2 separate regions of the Homo sapiens genome follow, and region 2 is linked to region 1. Evidence: promoter capture Hi-C in 16 types of primary human blood cells and fetal thymus (Javierre and others, 2016). All regions are on one chromosome and are shown on one strand. The core of a region is centred on a gene start or on the middle of the fragment in contact, and the rest is flanking DNA. Distances in the headings are between cores, read along the strand shown. Region 1 holds the start of CDO1 (cysteine dioxygenase type 1). Region 2 overlaps FEM1C (fem-1 homolog C).

Evidence for each region. Contacts are between HindIII fragments. The CHiCAGO score rates a contact against its expected background, and 5 or more counts as called.
Region 2: a fragment that was not itself captured here is called in contact with the fragment with the promoter of CDO1 in region 1 in 1 of 17 cell types (total CD8 T cells); the score reaches 5.7 in total CD8 T cells.

The regions. Positions count from the first base shown.
Region 1 is chr5:115,814,770-115,818,660 of GRCh38, reverse strand. It overlaps CDO1 (cysteine dioxygenase type 1), which reads left to right and starts at 2,002. Exons shown (of 5, transcript NM_001801.3): 1 at 2,002-2,433. The coding sequence starts at 2,264. LOC124901049 (a long non-coding RNA gene) reads right to left here and starts at 1,573. Exons shown (of 2, transcript XR_007058908.1): 1 at 1,490-1,573. The HindIII fragment of the contact is 6,274 bases long and covers 1-3,891 here.
Region 2 is chr5:115,538,399-115,542,321 of GRCh38, reverse strand. All of the region lies in intron 2 of FEM1C (fem-1 homolog C), which reads left to right. Among named protein-coding and RNA genes, the nearest start is that of FEM1C, 4.4 kb to the left of the region's middle. The HindIII fragment of the contact is 474 bases long and covers 1,601-2,074 here.

The DNA of each region.
Region 1 (3,891 bases), core at 753-3,252:
AACTGACAATACCTGGCGAGGATGCGGGGCAACTAGAACTCATACATCACTGTTGAGAATGTGAAATGGCACAGACCCTTTGCAAATTAGTATGTCAATTTCTTGCAAATTTAAACATGCACTGACTAAATGGCCCAGCAATCTCACTCCTAGGTATTTACTCAGGTGAAATGAAAATTTCTATTCACCCGAAAAAACATTTGTTGAATAAATTAATGAATGAATAATAAACGAATGGAGCTATCATAATGTAAAATGACTAGATAATATCTAAAATTGCTGAAACAAAAAAAAATATAAGCCTATTTTTGGAAAAAGGAAGTAACTACCACAAGGAATAGTTAGAAGAGTTAAGAGACTGACTCTTTAAGCACAGGACAGATGGTCAGGAATGGTTAAAAGGGCCTGCTGCTTTTCATTGACCTTCCAGTACTATTGATTTTTTTTAACTACGTGAATATATTACTTTCATAAAAATGTAAAAAGAAAAAGAGGAGTCAGAGAAAGAAAATGAATTGTCAGAAAAATTTAGAAGTTTTATCAACTGAAATGCAGAAAAGATAAATTGTGCTTGCATTTCATTTTTGTTGTTCATTCCAAACATTTATGGATTAGACTAGCTGAAATGAAGTAATTAAGAGACTCAATAGAAAACATTGCCAAGAATAAAAAATAATTTGAGGAAACCATGAAAAGTTTACAGGTTACTCTGTCACAAAATACTTTGTTAATTCACTACCCCGCAGCAACACACATCACCAAGGCTGGCTTCTGGAATGCTTTCTACTTGTAGCCATTTTTGAACAATAGGTGATTCCGCTTTTAACAACACTGTTAGAATATAATGTAGCGAGTTTTACCAGAGATGTTTAAGACTACCTGGCACAAGTAAATTTCATTGTATACATGTATATACACGAGGGAGGGTGATCATAGTCTAGAAAAAAACAGGTCTTCAGAAGTCTAGAACTTTAATAACCTTAAATCCAAATTATTCCCTGCGTCCATCCATAATGAGAAGGAAGAAATCTACACTTGCATTTCTTCCACCTTTCACATCTTTCTCATTTAAATCCTACTGTACTTGATTTGTGTTGTTCCCAACGTACTAGGTGCTATGCATGACGTAGAAACGTGTTTCCTTATATGTATGTACTAGCAGGCTCCTTCAAGCACATGCCTAAGGTTGAAAGATTCAAATATAATTATAGCCTCTTAAATTATTGCGTCAGAGCCCGCCCTATCCCCTCAGAAAAAGCCCCCTTTTACACCATCAAATGAAATATCAGGTTATTTGCACTGGATATTTTTTAAAAGAAAATATTTGATTTTAAAATCAAAGAGTTCTTGGTTTTCCATCATTTCACTAATTGTCTTACTAGAGACCCGAGTCTCCTTTGTCAAAATATATTTCAGTACGCATTTTAAAAAATATGTGTGTGTGTATACTTAAATATATATATATATAAAGTCTTGGACTTATTTTCACCTAGCCTGGGGCATATCGTGGATAGTTTCAATCGACAAAACAGGCACTCTCTGGCCTAGGAGTGGAATCCATCCTCAATTTTCGCAGGCTCCTCACAATTCTCTATTTGGAAGAAGTGTCCCTCTCCTTCCCTTTTCTTTTCCTCCTTTACTCAGCGTCAGTCCCCGCAGCCATCTCCTCCGACCCTTTTTGTCTACGTCCCAGCGTCGCGAACCACAGCGGCGGAGGTGGAGCGGGGAGAGGCGTTAGGCCGGGCGGCTAAAACGCGCCGTTAAAGTGGGGGAGAGATTGCGCGGAGCCCACGCGATCCCTGGGACGCCGGAGACAACGGGGCTCTTGGGAAGGCGCGGAGCCCGGGGAAGCCGGGGATGTGCGCGTGAGCCGTGCCCGCAGGGTCTCCCCGCCTCCGCCACCTTTCTTGGGTGGCTCTCCGCCTCGTCCTCCCTCCGAGGGCCGTTGGTACATTCCTAGTGACTCCAAGCGCTTAAAAGGGGCCCGGGAGGATGAACCCCACAGATCTGAACCTGATTTGTGTGTGCACCGCGTCTCCAGCGATCCCGGATCCACTGCGCTGCCAGGGGCCTGGGGGTGGGTCTCTTGCTGTCTCTGCGACGACATCCTTACGTTTCGGCACTCTAATGCTGGGTTTGTGCGTGTGTGTCTGCTTAGCGGTCTAGCGGGCTGTTAGGCTCCCTCGCCCCCAGCTCCTTGGCTCGCTCAGCTCCTCCACCGCAGCCCAGCAGTGAGACGCGCGCGCAGCCAGCTCCCCACGAGATGGAACAGACCGAAGTGCTGAAGCCACGGACCCTGGCTGATCTGATCCGCATCCTGCACCAGCTCTTTGCCGGCGATGAGGTCAATGTAGAGGAGGTGCAGGCCATCATGGAAGCCTACGAGAGCGACCCCACCGAGTGGGCAATGTACGCCAAGTTCGACCAGTACAGGTGAGCGCGCTGCAGCTTCAATGCCAGGCGGCGCCCACTCGCCCCGTCTGAGGAGGAATGGACGTGGGGGACGCAGCCCAAAGTGACTGGCTCGGGAAGCTCGGGCCGCGCTGCGTCCGCCGCTCGCCCCCTCGCTGGCCAGCCGCGGGGCTGGCACGACTCGCTTGGGGCTCCGCGGCCACAGCGCAGGCGGAAGGTGGATCCTACTGGCCTTGCTGACCTCCGGCCGGGAACGGCGGACAGGCGCCGGGAAGGGAGGCCACCGCGCGTCTGCGAGATTTTCTGTTCTCTTCTCTCCCGCAAACCCCTCTGCTTCTAAACCACCAGTCCTCCTGCCCCTGGCCTCGGGAGCAATGCCCACACTCCCAAGCCATCGTTAACCCCGGGCGCGGAGATGCGGAGAGACCGCACTCAGGTTCGGGCCCTCCTGACACCTTAAGGAACCGTCTGGCCGGACTAGCAGAGGGTGCTCCCAGGGGAGCACTACATCAGCCATCGGGAGAAGTGTGTGATGTTGAAGAAGACAAGTCACCCGCGTCAGTTCTCCATCACTGCGCCTTCGGTCGCCTGCAACCGGGCACCTTATAGCAAGCATTTTTACTCATGTAAAATAGCGTCTTGTGGCCGTCAGCTGCCACTACGGAATTTCTGCTGTTCCCTTTCCCAAACCAATTTAACTAACTTCCCCGACTGTGGGTTTATTCAAATCCACTGCCAAGTTTCGCAGATTAAATATTCGACCGTCGTTTTTTTCAGCCCCCAAATGATCTGATTTATCTTATCCTTGCTTCTGACGATCTGTAATGTAAATTAAAGACCCCTACTTCCCAGATGTACTTGAGTGAGGTGCCCTGGTAAGCTGGCTTTTTTGCAGCCCCGGCTTGGTGATTAAGTCGAATCTCTCTACCAATCCTCCGGGGCCAGAGGTAAAATTTAATCACCCCGAAGTGTGAGAGGTTCTACTTTTTCTGAGCAGTTAGTGCGTCAGTCTTTGTGGTTTTTTGGGTTTAGGGTTAGGAGAAAGGGGTAAGTGAAAGAAAAGAATAAGGAAAGAAGTAAGTTTGTTTTTCTTGGGAGCAGGTTCTTTTAGTCACTCTTCAACATGTGGGATGTTTCGTAAAGTTTTGTTGGCATGGGCGGTTTCAACTGTATTTTAGGATTTGAAATAGAAAAAGTGAAGACCACTAAGGATCCCATTTTTCATATACAAGTGACTTGAGGAAATTCCTTTGGCTCCTATCAGCTTAGTTCATGGTAGAGCCCTTCTGTAGCCGTGAAAGCTAGCAGAGAGTCTAGCTTTTAAATTTTCTTGCATTTGCTCCAGGTAATTGAAGACTTGTTATGGGACAGGTACTCTTCCAGACACTTGACACATATGAGGAATGGCAGGCAATGAAGAAGTTGAATGACTTGCACTAGGTCTTCTATCGATAGCGGCTCCAGGCTCCCGGGGTTAGC
Region 2 (3,923 bases), core at 588-3,087, 280 kb after region 1:
ATACTGAGAGTGAAGAACAAGGACTAGATTAAACAGATGTGGATTTGTTGGCTAGCAACAGTGTAAACACCTTTGTCCAGAAGAAGGGCTCCGGTTTTTGATTGTGTATAATTTTTGTTGATTGTAATAAACTAAAAGCAGCAAAAAGTAGTTTAGAATTTTTTTAACCCTTAAAAGCAACTGCCTTGATAGCATAATTTTGATACTTGAAAACCTTAACTTCCCTTACACGAATCTATTTATACGACAGCAAAATAATTCACTACCTAATTTTTAAAAGCCATTAAAATTTAAAAGTAGCATATAGACATGTTAAAAAAAATCAAACAGTGTAAATTGGTTTACATTGTTGGTTTACATTTGAATAAAAAGTCTTATTCCTGATTTCTAGATCTCTAATGCGCTGACAACCACTATTTACAGTTTTTTATGTGTCCTTTTAGAGTTGGTCTATGCAAATACAAGCATACTTGTCTATGTACAAGCATGCTTGTTTGTGTAGCCCTCCGTCTAGTGGTTGATTACATACTTTTTTATCTTTATTTATTTTTCTAACCTTGGATGTCATTCAACTCCAACACACATAGCTACCTCATTCTGTTTTGTGGCTATACAGTATTTCATTGTATGAATGTACATAATTTATCTAGTCTCTATTGGTTGATATTTAGGTCACATCCAGTACTTTGCTAATATAAACAATGCTGCTGTGAACATTCTTGAACAAAAATGTGTCTTTTCACGCTTGTGTGAGAATAACTGTAGTATAAATACCTGTGTTCAGAATTGCTAAATCAAAGTGAATGTACATTTGCAGTTGTGATAGTGTCTGCCTTTCAGAAAGGTTAAACCACACAATTATGGGGCACTATATAGTTACTGAGCATATTTGCTGTAGATTGTGTGATCTTTTATAAAAATGATACAAGTGTGATCTTTTATAAAAATGATACAAGATCATTGTGATTTTTCTGAATTTTTTTTTCCAGAGGAAGTGTAAAAATCCCACAAAATCCCAGTACTCAGGGATAATACTTCCAAAGATATTTCTGAATTTTGCATACTGATATATGTATGCAGTTTTATATGCTGTTCTATAACCTGTTTTTTAGCTTAATAAATGTTATCTTTAATATTACCAATTATAGCTCTTTAATTTCAATAGCTGCATACTCTTCTACTGATGGAGTTTTATGTTGCTTCCAGTTTTTCAGTATGATAAAAAATGTTTCTGTAAACATTCTTTCTAATAAGTGTTTTCATTTGTTCCTGATTATCTTTAGAGGTGGCTTGGTAGATCAAATGACAGCATGGCTTTTCTTTTTTCTCCAAACAATTATCATTCTTTTGAAGAATGCTTGTTTTAAGACAACAAATTACTGCTGAACTAACCATGTTAATATTGGGAATGGTTTGAAATCATGGCTGCTTGTTTAGGTTTGTTGAATTTTTTGTTTCTTTGTTTTGGGCTTTTTATTCATCAGCTTGATGTAGATATTATTGATAAACTCATATTTAAGTCAAATTGGGATATGTTTTAAAAGCCTATGTTATTGGAGAGATGAGAACTGGTATTACTTCCGTTATATTTTCCAAAGCTTCTTTATGTACTTGTGGAGATATAGTATATGAGAGAACTCTAATATAAATAGCTCAGATTTTTTCAGCATTTTCTCCTGAGAAGCTGTGAACAGTATTTAACTTGATTACCTTTGAGCTCTTTCAAAACAATGTTCCCTTTATCACCACTATCATCTTTTAGCCTTATATGTGAGGGTATGTCTGTTCTCTCTTTTGGCCAAACTTATTCTAAGTCATTTTTTTCCCCAGTATCAGTATCTAATATGTATGTCTTTAAAAAAACTACATATAACATGAGAAAACAATTTCATGCCAAAAATTGTTTTCTCGTAACCTCAACTTTATACCCATACACATGCATATAGATATTGTCACTTCATGTGCAGAATTTTTACCTTTTCATGGTATCTGTTAATTTCCATAGTGATTCTTCATGAATGTTGGGGGCAGATTAAAGTACATGTTCATCCTCCTCCACTCTGATCCTGAAGCTTCACTGCTCATTCTCTCATTGGTTCTGGATTTTTTTCTATGGGTTAATGGTAACAAAAGCAGGAACCAATTGAAACTAAGGCAGGGACACTGGAGAAGGATGTGATTTAGCAGCAAGAGAGGATTTTTCCCCACTTTTTTAGCCCCATTCAAAAAGTAGAAAAGATTAATAAGACTAGAGTTAAATTAGAATAATTCCTTAGGACATTTTGTGTGTCATTCACTGGAAATGGTTCTGAGGAAAGAAAATGTCAGTACATTGTGCTTGGTCTGCTTAAAGATAAAATGCATGTGACTTCTACATTCCATTACTTTTAAACAGGCGGTTGATATTTGAACATGTTATTTAACCTCTTTTCATTACTTTTTAACAGGCTATTGGCATTTTGAACATGTTTTAACCTAAGGTGGAATTCACTAATTGAGAGAGCAGTTGTTGAGTCCCGCAGTGTGCCAGGCTGTTAGACTTAGGATATACAAAGAGCAATAAGACAAGATAGCCAGTCCTTGATTCCCTGCTCTTGAGGAGCTCATGGTTTGATTGGAGAGACAGGTTCATAAGCAGATACTTAAACCACAGTATGGTAAGTGCAACAGTAGTACTTTCTTCTATTAGATATTTGGAAATGCTTTATCCCCAACAACTTATAACCTGAGGGGACAATGGTTTTCTTCTTTTCCCATGGCATTCCAAAAGGGGAGAAAATCTTTGATATATTTAGGAATACCTCTTCAGTTTAACAGTCATAGCAATTGAGTTTTGAGACGGGAGTTGGTTCCTATTTAAGAATCTAGACTGTAAATCTGTAGTGATTAGGTGAGTCCTTCTCAGAGCTATCACAGTGATCTCAGCGCTTCATGGTTATAGTCATCTTTGGCCTCCTTTGGTTCTTTTGTTTGTGTTTTGGGGTTGTTTTTGTTTGGACTTAGAACTTTGCAGATCCAAAGTTAAGTCCTCTTCAATTCCACTTTTACACCCTAATTCTAACAGAAATTGAGCAGCTAAAAGTTCTTGATTCAGTACTACAGACCAATAGAAAACGCTGTAGGCTCAGATTTGGAGACTGGCTCTAGAAGACATTCTGTCCTCATTCATCAGTCAGTTTAGATACCCAAAGTAATTAAATAAATTGGTAATAAGGTAATTAACATGCACTTTCTGTAGGCAAGGCATTCTGTGGGACATTTTGGAGGTTATGAGAAGATACGAGGTGTCACATTTTTAACTTCTGAAGGAATAGTATAAGCAATCCATGCTATAGGATTTTAGAGCGGGTGTACTGACTAGGAATGCTTCATGGAGAAAGTAGAAGTTAAACAGGGCTTTGAATTTTGGGGTTTAGATCTATGGACAGGTTGGGGTTTAGATCTGCAGAAAGTTTATTGGGATGTGGATCTGTGGAAGGGTTTTGGCAGTTTTGAAGGTTTAGGAAATGGCATAAGGAAAGGCACTTTGAAGAATATGCTTGGAGGGTCCAGGAATTGGAAAGTAGGCATATTAGAACTAAAAGGCACTCAGGGCTGAATTTTAAAGGACATTTAATCTAGGTACAGGAGTTGGATTTTATTTTTCATGCCAGTAAAAGTTTTTCAGCAGGGGACTAACTGGAGTGGTTTGTTTGTTTGCTTGTTTGTTTTCAGAGAAACTTATCTAACTGCATTCTACTACAACACTGTGACATCTAACCGCATTCTACTACATAGTCTTTGAGGCTAAAGACCTAGTGTTTTTACCCCATGCATTAGGAAGAGTATCTGGCCCTAAATGAGCTTGTTGAGTGGACATGTTGGATTTAAGAGAGGAAAGATTATAAGCTCCTTGATGGCAAGCACTATGTTTTATAGGCCTT